Regions from separate parts of the Homo sapiens genome. Here region 1 is linked to region 2. Evidence: promoter capture Hi-C in 16 types of primary human blood cells and fetal thymus (Javierre and others, 2016). All regions are on one chromosome and are shown on one strand. The core of a region is centred on a gene start or on the middle of the fragment in contact, and the rest is flanking DNA. Distances in the headings are between cores, read along the strand shown. Region 1 overlaps PDSS1 (decaprenyl diphosphate synthase subunit 1). Region 2 holds the start of ACBD5 (acyl-CoA binding domain containing 5).

Evidence for each region. The method cuts DNA at HindIII sites, captures the fragments that hold promoters and counts their contacts. A CHiCAGO score of 5 or more calls a contact.
Region 1: a fragment that was not itself captured here is called in contact with the fragment with the promoter of ACBD5 in region 2 in 1 of 17 cell types (neutrophils); the score reaches 5.8 in neutrophils.

The regions. Positions count from the first base shown.
Region 1 is chr10:26,723,003-26,726,778 of GRCh38, reverse strand. It overlaps PDSS1 (decaprenyl diphosphate synthase subunit 1), which reads right to left. Exons shown (of 12, transcript NM_014317.5): 7 at 2,862-2,973; 8 at 2,656-2,765. Among named protein-coding and RNA genes, the nearest start is that of PDSS1, 27 kb to the right of the region's middle. The HindIII fragment of the contact is 1,711 bases long and covers 701-2,411 here.
Region 2 is chr10:27,237,915-27,242,067 of GRCh38, reverse strand. ACBD5 (acyl-CoA binding domain containing 5) reads left to right here and starts at 1,271. Exons shown (of 13, transcript NM_145698.5): 1 at 1,271-1,394; 2 at 1,584-1,749. The coding sequence starts at 1,380. RefSeq lists enhancers at 1-49, 1,500-1,759, 1,717-2,219 and a silencer at 1,270-1,379. The HindIII fragment of the contact is 10,066 bases long and covers 1-4,153 here.

The DNA.
Region 1 (3,776 bases), core at 307-2,806, 520 kb after region 2:
AAAATGGATTCTATTTTAATATCAGTCAATCACAAAACAATCCCCCTAGACAGCCCTCTCTTAGATTTTAATATTATTTTCACTAAAAAAAGGAAGGGAGATGAAGAAATGGTATCCTTAGTAGAATGCAGCTTGTAAGTTTCCCTCCAATTCTCAATACATTTTGCAATCCCATTAGTTCTTCTTCTGTAATAATTCTGCTCTTTCAGTTCTCCTCCTCCCCTCTTTTTGGTGTGTCTAATTTGCTTTGCATGCATTTATTTGGAGCTCGCATGGCTTTGCATTTTAAATACCAAGAGTACGTAAAAATAGCCATTTTGAATCCATAACACCTCTGGAATATTTCCACCCATAGGCACTTAAATATAGAAACTTTTATTCAAATAGCTCACACTATCATTTTGCTTTATTATTCTAAGAGCTGTGGAGTTTAGGAATAAACCACATGAAAAGGAGGTAGTGCTGGGACGATGCCAGCATGCCCCCTAGTGGGCAGCATGAAACATTTCATTTTTAATAAGGGTCCAGCCACGTTAACATGTTCACTGTTCGTTCAGCTGCTAATCTTTGAAGAATGAGGTGCATATCTTTATAAAAGAATTCCTGTGCATTATCTTTGGCTTCTTAAACAGAAAACAGTGACCACAAGGAAACCTCTCTATCATGACTCAGGTCCATTTCTTTGGACCCTTTGTAAGCTTCCATCACTGAGTGAATTTCTGTGCTAGCTCCAATTTGGTGCCGCCCCACCCCGTGCCTGCAGGATGTCTGCATGGTGCAGACAGTAAGTCTTGGTGTTTCCAATTCCAATAGTCTCACTACTACTAATGCTTCTAAGACTTTATTTTTTAAACATTATTTTTAAGTAGAGATGGGGATCTTGCTATGTTGCCTAGGTTGGTCTTGAACTTCTGGTCACAAGCAAACCTTCCGCCTCAGTCTCCCTAAATGCTGGGATTACAGGTGTGAGCCACCTTGCCTGACCATGCTAATGCTTCTAAGTTTGCAGTCTCAAATTGTGAAATTATCAATGAGCCTCACTTAACACATCCTCTTAAGGATAAATATTAGTAAGTAATATTAAGGCACCCTAATGTGTTAAGAGGATGGATCCTGACCTTCAGGGAGAGTTGGGCCATCAAGGGCATGATAATATGTAAAGGATTACTGTAAAAGTGTTAGAGCACCCACTTAAAATAGGCTATTCTCTTATTTAGCATCTCGTGTCTATACTTTCTTCCATCTCACTTTAAAAAAAAAACCCACATAATTTCTTGGAAATAAAAACATAATAGCCCTTTTAATAAAAAGACAAAAGTGGTCGAGACTGTGGCTAGCATGTTCTACATAATTCACATTCCTTAAAGTTTCTATTAGGTCTTTTTAGGAAGAAAAGATTGTCCTCATTCTTTTCTGCCTTGCAATTATACATTTCTTGACACTTTTCAAAACAGAGACACTAACAGCAAGAGACTTTTTCATCTGAGAGGTCTGAGCAAAAGCTCTCTTTACCTGTTAATTATGTTAGGAGTCTATCATGACAGCAATTGACATGCGACCCTTACAGGTCTTCCTTATTTTGTGGCTGTAATTACATGGGAATGTCATTTGTCCAGGTTTTGTCTCTGTGTATCTGTCAGGCTTAGAGATGGGCAGATAAACAATTCTATGGAGAGACTGCTTTTCATTCTTGGACTAACGATGAATACCACACATTTGTCTACGGATTAAAGGTATTACTCATTAAAAAAAAAATGTATACATGTGTATGCACAGCGGAGGGAGGGAGAAAGCAAGGGGAAAAACAGTTATGGCTTATACTCAATTTGTACTCTGAAGAAATAGGACTTGTTTATATTTCATGTAAAAATATTAGAAGGATTGGCCAGGTGCAATGTATTGGCCAGGTGCAATGGCTCATGCCTGTAATCCCAGTACTTTGCAGGGCCAAGGTGGGTGGATCACTTGAGGGCAGGAGTTTGAGACCAGCCCGGCCAACATGGCAAACCCCCATCCCTATGAAAAATACAAAAATTAGCTGGGTGTGATGGCGCACACCTGTGGTCCCAGCTACTAGGGAAGCTGAGGCAGGAGAATTGCCTGAACCTGGGAGGTGGAGGTTGTAGTGAGCCAAGATCACACCACTGCTTTGTAGCCTGGGCCACACAGCAAAAGACTCTGTCTCAAAAAAACACAAAAAACAAAAAAACAAAAAAAAGTTCATAGAATGCTAGTACAATCTAACAGATATCTTTTCCTGAGTAAATATTATATTAAAGAACAGAGCACTTCATTTCTAAAAGGTGAAGTGTCAGAAAGAGTGTGTGTGATATCAATCATTAGAGAAATTATGATAAATTGTTCAAAATGATACAGTTTGGCAATCAGATTGGGGAAGGTGCGGGAAAGCTTATTTTGATTGAATTCTTGGGAAGAAAAGATGAAAAGTCAACGCCTGCATACCAAAAGAAGATGGCAAAAATGAAAACACAGCAGAAGTCCTCTATTGTTTGGGGATGTCATTCTTTTCCTCATTAACCTCTTGGGATTTTTGGGTACTATTTTAAGATTCTTCACCGAAATATTTTCTAGGAAAATTAGCTCCCAAAAAAGAGCTATGAGGCTTTAACTTGAAGAAAGACAGAACGTACATACTGCTTTACAACTGTTGGCTATCAGGCTGGCGGTCTTCTTGAATGTCTTCTCAAGGTAGTGTGCAAATCTTTCATTCTCATTTTCTTTTGACCCGAGCTGAAGAAATTCACCTATAAAGAAGGAAAGGAGTCATTTGAGAGGTGGCTTTATTGCCTGGCTAAACACCAGGGTTGAATAACAAAGAAGAAAAATCAGAATCAACGTACCACGCACCAAATCTTCAATAACTTGGGTTAAAATAGATATAACAGTTGTATTTCCAATTCGTGCCAGAGCTATAGATGCTGCAGAAAGAATTAAATCTCCAGCAAGAACAGCCTAGAAAAAGACAGGGGGAAAACAGAACGTTCTGAAAAATCCATCAGAGCAGTAGAGCCAATGATGAAACTGACTGGAAGGGAGCTTCGTGGAAGTGGGGGCTCATCTTGGATGCAGGGTTTTTTACCTTCTTCTTCCTCAACAGGAGTCCGTAACAATCAGTTACAGATTTGGAACAGTGTTTGAACTGGACTGGCTCTCAGAGATGACCATGTCACTTCCCAGTTCGTAATAATCAGTTACAGATTTGGGACAGTGTTTGAACTGGACTGGCTCTCAGAGATGACCATGTCACTCTTCCCAGTTTCTAATAATCGGTTACAGATTTGGGACAGTACTTGAACTGTATTGGCTCTCAGAGATGACCATGTCCATCTCCCCAGTTGACACCTGAAGAAATCAATGCCTGGAGAGGGAGAGCAGCTTCACTCACCAGCCCCACCAAAATGCAGCTGCCTTCAGTTTCACTACACTGGATGTTCATTCTTCCTTTGTGCCTTTCCACTTACTGTTCCTTCTGCTCAAAAAGTTCTGCCCCCTTCTTCACTGAGTGGACTTATTTGCATAATTGGTTCAGATGCCACCTCTAAGAAGTTCCCCCCGATCCCTCAGTCTGGTCAGATGCCTCCCTTTTGTGCGTGTACAACACCCATGCATGCTGCGACCATCACACCTTGCGTACCAGTCAGTGATGCTCTAGTCTCTATGCTCCCAGGGCAGTGGGGAGGGTGGAGTGGAGTGGGAGCTCAGACTAGGAATCATCTCAGCTAGTACTGAGCACACCCCAGAGCATGGCACGATAC
Region 2 (4,153 bases), core at 22-2,521:
AATACCAAGGTAAATGCCGGCGCCGCGGCTCAGAGGGAAGAGTAACTTACGATCTGCGCCTAGATTTTTCCTAGTAACCCTCCTAACCCATCCCCCTAACTGACAAAAACGACTCTTCCATCCGGGAGACTTTGGGATTTCCGGGCTACAGGACTCCACCCCCCACAACCTAGTCAGTCCCACCACCAACGTTCGGCCTGGGGCACTTCCCAAATGCCTAAGGACGCAGGGGGTTGCGCTAGTAAGTTGAAGGCCCAGGGCACCCCCTTTCTAGGGTTGACGACCCGTAAAGACTCCTCATTGGCCCCGCCCTCTACGCCCAGTATCCTATTTTTATTTTTTTTTTTAATTATTGGTTTCTTAAATAGAGCCAGGGTATCGCCATGTTGCCAGGCTCGTCTTGAACTCCTGGCCTCAAGCAATCCTCCCCACTCGACCTCTCAAAGTATCGAGATTACAGGCGTGAGCCACTGTGCCCGGCCGTCCCCATGCCCAGTCTCCTATTAAATCCCGCTGGAGGTGCCTGGCTCCCTGGGGCTGGGTGGAAAGGGTAGTGTAGGGGAAGTTGCCCTCCGTCCCAGCCCAGTTTAGGAGCCGGCGACCTCCTCTCTCCTTCGGCTGCTCCTCGGACGTTCTTGGCTCAGGGCAGCGAAAACTGTCGAAGACCTGCGGGCCAGGGACTGCTGAGCACCTCCATCCAAGGTCCCCAATGCTTTTCTCCATCTACCCTTTAGAGTGGGTGTCACGATTGCCACTGGAAAGGCTAAGTGACTTGCCCTAGGTCACATAATTTAAATGGCAGAACTGGAGTTTCTCACAGAACCTGTCCCGACTTAAAGCCCTTTGCTTAGGCCCCATTTAACTTCCTCAAACCTTAACTTAGGAGAGTGCAGGCGCTGGGGACCGCAGAGTCATTTTTGTTGCCCAGCGGTGCCGTCGCGTGCAGCTTTGGGCCCAGGTGCAGAACCCAACCGCGCATCCCCAGCGCGCACTTCGTCCACCCGGCTGCCAGAGCGGACACATCGGTCCGGCCTCGGTTTCCCCCTTCTGAACAAAAGCGCGCACAGTGTGCTCCCCGCACCAAGCCGGGACTGTGGCCCCCTTTCCCCGCTTCCCGGACCCTCCTCTGGGGACAGACGGACCGCGCGCGTCCTTGCCGCGGCGGCGGGTCGGGTGGGTGGGGTTTGCTGCACTGCTGCTGCGGCGGCGGCGGCGCCAGTGGGTCCTCCGGTGACTCTGGGGCGGGGCTGTGGGGAGGGCACGGACTGACAGACGGACTCCGGCGGAATGGGGGGTGTGGCTGCTCCGCCAGGGTCCCCAGGGTGGGAGAGCGGCTCCGCGGCCACCGATGCCCGGACCCCCTCTGTCTTCTGCTAGACATGCTCTTCCTCTCGGTGAGTTGTTTTGCTGTCGTCGCGGGCCGGATTCGTGGCCTTAGTCACGCCCCGGGGGAGGAGGAAGGAGCCGGGCCGCTTCGATCTGTGTGGCCTGGATAGGGCAGGGCAAAGGGGAACTGACCCGCTTCGCTCCCGGGCCTCCTCCTTTTGGGGCATGTTGATCCGCGGCTGCGCTCCATGTTCCAGTTTCATGCAGGCTCTTGGGAAAGCTGGTGCTGCTGCTGCCTGATTCCCGCCGACAGACCTTGGGACCGGGGCCAACACTGGCAGCTGGAGATGGCGGACACGAGATCCGTGCACGAGACTAGGTTTGAGGCGGCCGTGAAGGTGATCCAGAGTTTGCCGAAGAATGGTACGTGCGCTGGGCCCCGGCTGTAGACGCCTCCTGCAGAGAGCCCCAAAGCCCCCTTTCACTTTCTGGTTCTAGTGTTGTTTATTTAGCCTTTTTTTCTGTGTAGGAGCCATGTAGTGGAAGGGGAGCTATTGAATATGAATTAATTACCTTTTGATCTTCCAAACCGGAGAAAAATCTAATATCCAGATTTTAAGTACTTCATATTGTTGAAAACAAAAGTCTTGTCACTTAATGACTGCGGATTTGGGTGTGTTAAAAAATAAATCCGGGCCGGGCGCGGTGGCTCAAGCCTGTAATCCCAACACTTTGGGAGGCCGAGGTGGATGGATCACCTGAGGTCAGGAGTTCAAGACCAGCCTGACCAATATGGTGAAACCCCGTCTCTACTAAAAAATACGAAAATTAGCCAGGCTTCGTGGCGTGCGCCTGTAGTCCCAGCTACTCGGGAGGCTGAGACAGGGAAATTGCTTGAACCCGGGAGGCAGAGGTTGCAGTGACCCGATATCGTGCCACTGCACTCCAGCCTGGGCGACAGAGCCAGACTCCATCTCAAACAAACAAACAAACAAACAAACAAAAATCTAGGCTGGGGATGCCTAATGCCACACACTCATAGGGTCTACCAGCTTAAGCGTTTTGAAAACTTTTGATATGAAGGGACAGAAAAGAAAGAATAACTATAGTCAATTGTGAAGTAATTTCTATTTTAATAAATATATATTTTCTACCTTTTTATTTGCTATTCCATTGTATAATGTTCTTTTTTATACTCATATTGGACCTTCTTTGCAGCTGGTGAGAAAAAAGTCATTCCAGTGGCTGATCTCCTTCTTGTATTTAATGTGCTATTTCTCTGGCTGCTTTTTAGATTTCTTTTCTATCTTCGGTTTTCAGCAATTTGACTAGTAGATGTGGTTTTTCTTCATATTAACCCTGTTCACGATTTGCAGAGCTTTTTGAATTTGTAATTTTATGTCATAGACCAATGTGAAGTTTTTGGCCATTAAATATTTTTCTCTGTTCTAAATGCAGAGTCTTAGAAGCAAGACGTACTTTTCAATTCATATCTTTCTACATTATATGAATTATATTTCACAATAAACATATTTATTTCTTTAGAGATGGAGTTCCGCTCTTGTTGCCCAGGCTGAAGTGCAATGGTACAATCTCAGCTCACCTCAACCCCCACCTCCCAGGTTCAAGCGATTCTTCTGCCTCAGCTTACCCAGCAGCTGGGATTACACCCGTGCGTCACCATGCCCGGCTAATTTTGTATTTTTAGTAGAGACGGGGTTTCTCCATGTTGGTCAGGCTGGTATTGAACTCCCGACCTCAGGTGATCTGCCCTCCTGGGCCACCCAAAGTGCTGGGATTACAGGCATGAGCCACCGCGCCCGGCCCAATAAACATATTTAGAAAGTAATTATAGGTGCTACTACTGTGCCACAGTTGTAAAACTAACTGAATACAACAATAATATGTTACTATAGTATTTAATATCATGATTTCTGTTTTCATTAATTATCATTAATTATCAATAATTTCAATAATTATAGGTAACAAATATTCAACACATCATTCAATAAAAATTCATTAAATGCAGATTCAGAAATTTTTAAAAACAAATATACACAAAATAGTGTTCCATTTGTAATTTCTTTCCTTCTATGGTGTTGTCTGAACCTTTTGTAATTTCAAACATTCTATTGGAGGAGGGCATATGGGGGACTGAAAGATAAGAAAGAACAAATAAAATATAAAAAAAAGCATGAACTTATTTAGGTATTGATTTTTTAAGTCCCTAATTATTAGTGTTTATAGAAAGGTATGATTCTAAGAGTTTTATGTAAGTAGTATGTTTATACTTTCTTCTAAAGCACACGTTTTTATAGTTTTTTGAAAATTGGTAAAGCTAGACTGATGTCTCTAGGCCACTATGCCTGTTGACATTATGTACCACTTATTAGGAAACCTGTATAAAGTACAGTTTGTATGTACATAACATTTAAGAAAGTATTGCAAAGTTAACATACCCTATCGGCCGGGTGCGGTGGCTCACGCCTGTAATCCCAGCACTGTGGGAGGCCGAGGCAGGCTGATGCTGAGGCGGGCTGATCACGGGGCTGGCGGATCACAAGGTCAGGAGATTGAGACCATCCTGGCTAATACGGTGAAACCCCGTCTCTACTAAAAATACAAAAAATTAGCCAGGCGTGGTCGTGGGCGCCTGTAGTCCCACCTACTCGGGAGGCTGAGGCAGGAGAATGGCGTGAACCCGGGAGGCGGAGCTTGCAGTGAGCCTAGATCACACCCCAGCCTGGGTGACAGAGCCAGACTCCGTCTCCGAAAAAATAAAATAAAATTAAATTAAATTAAATTTAAAAAAAAAGATACCCTATCA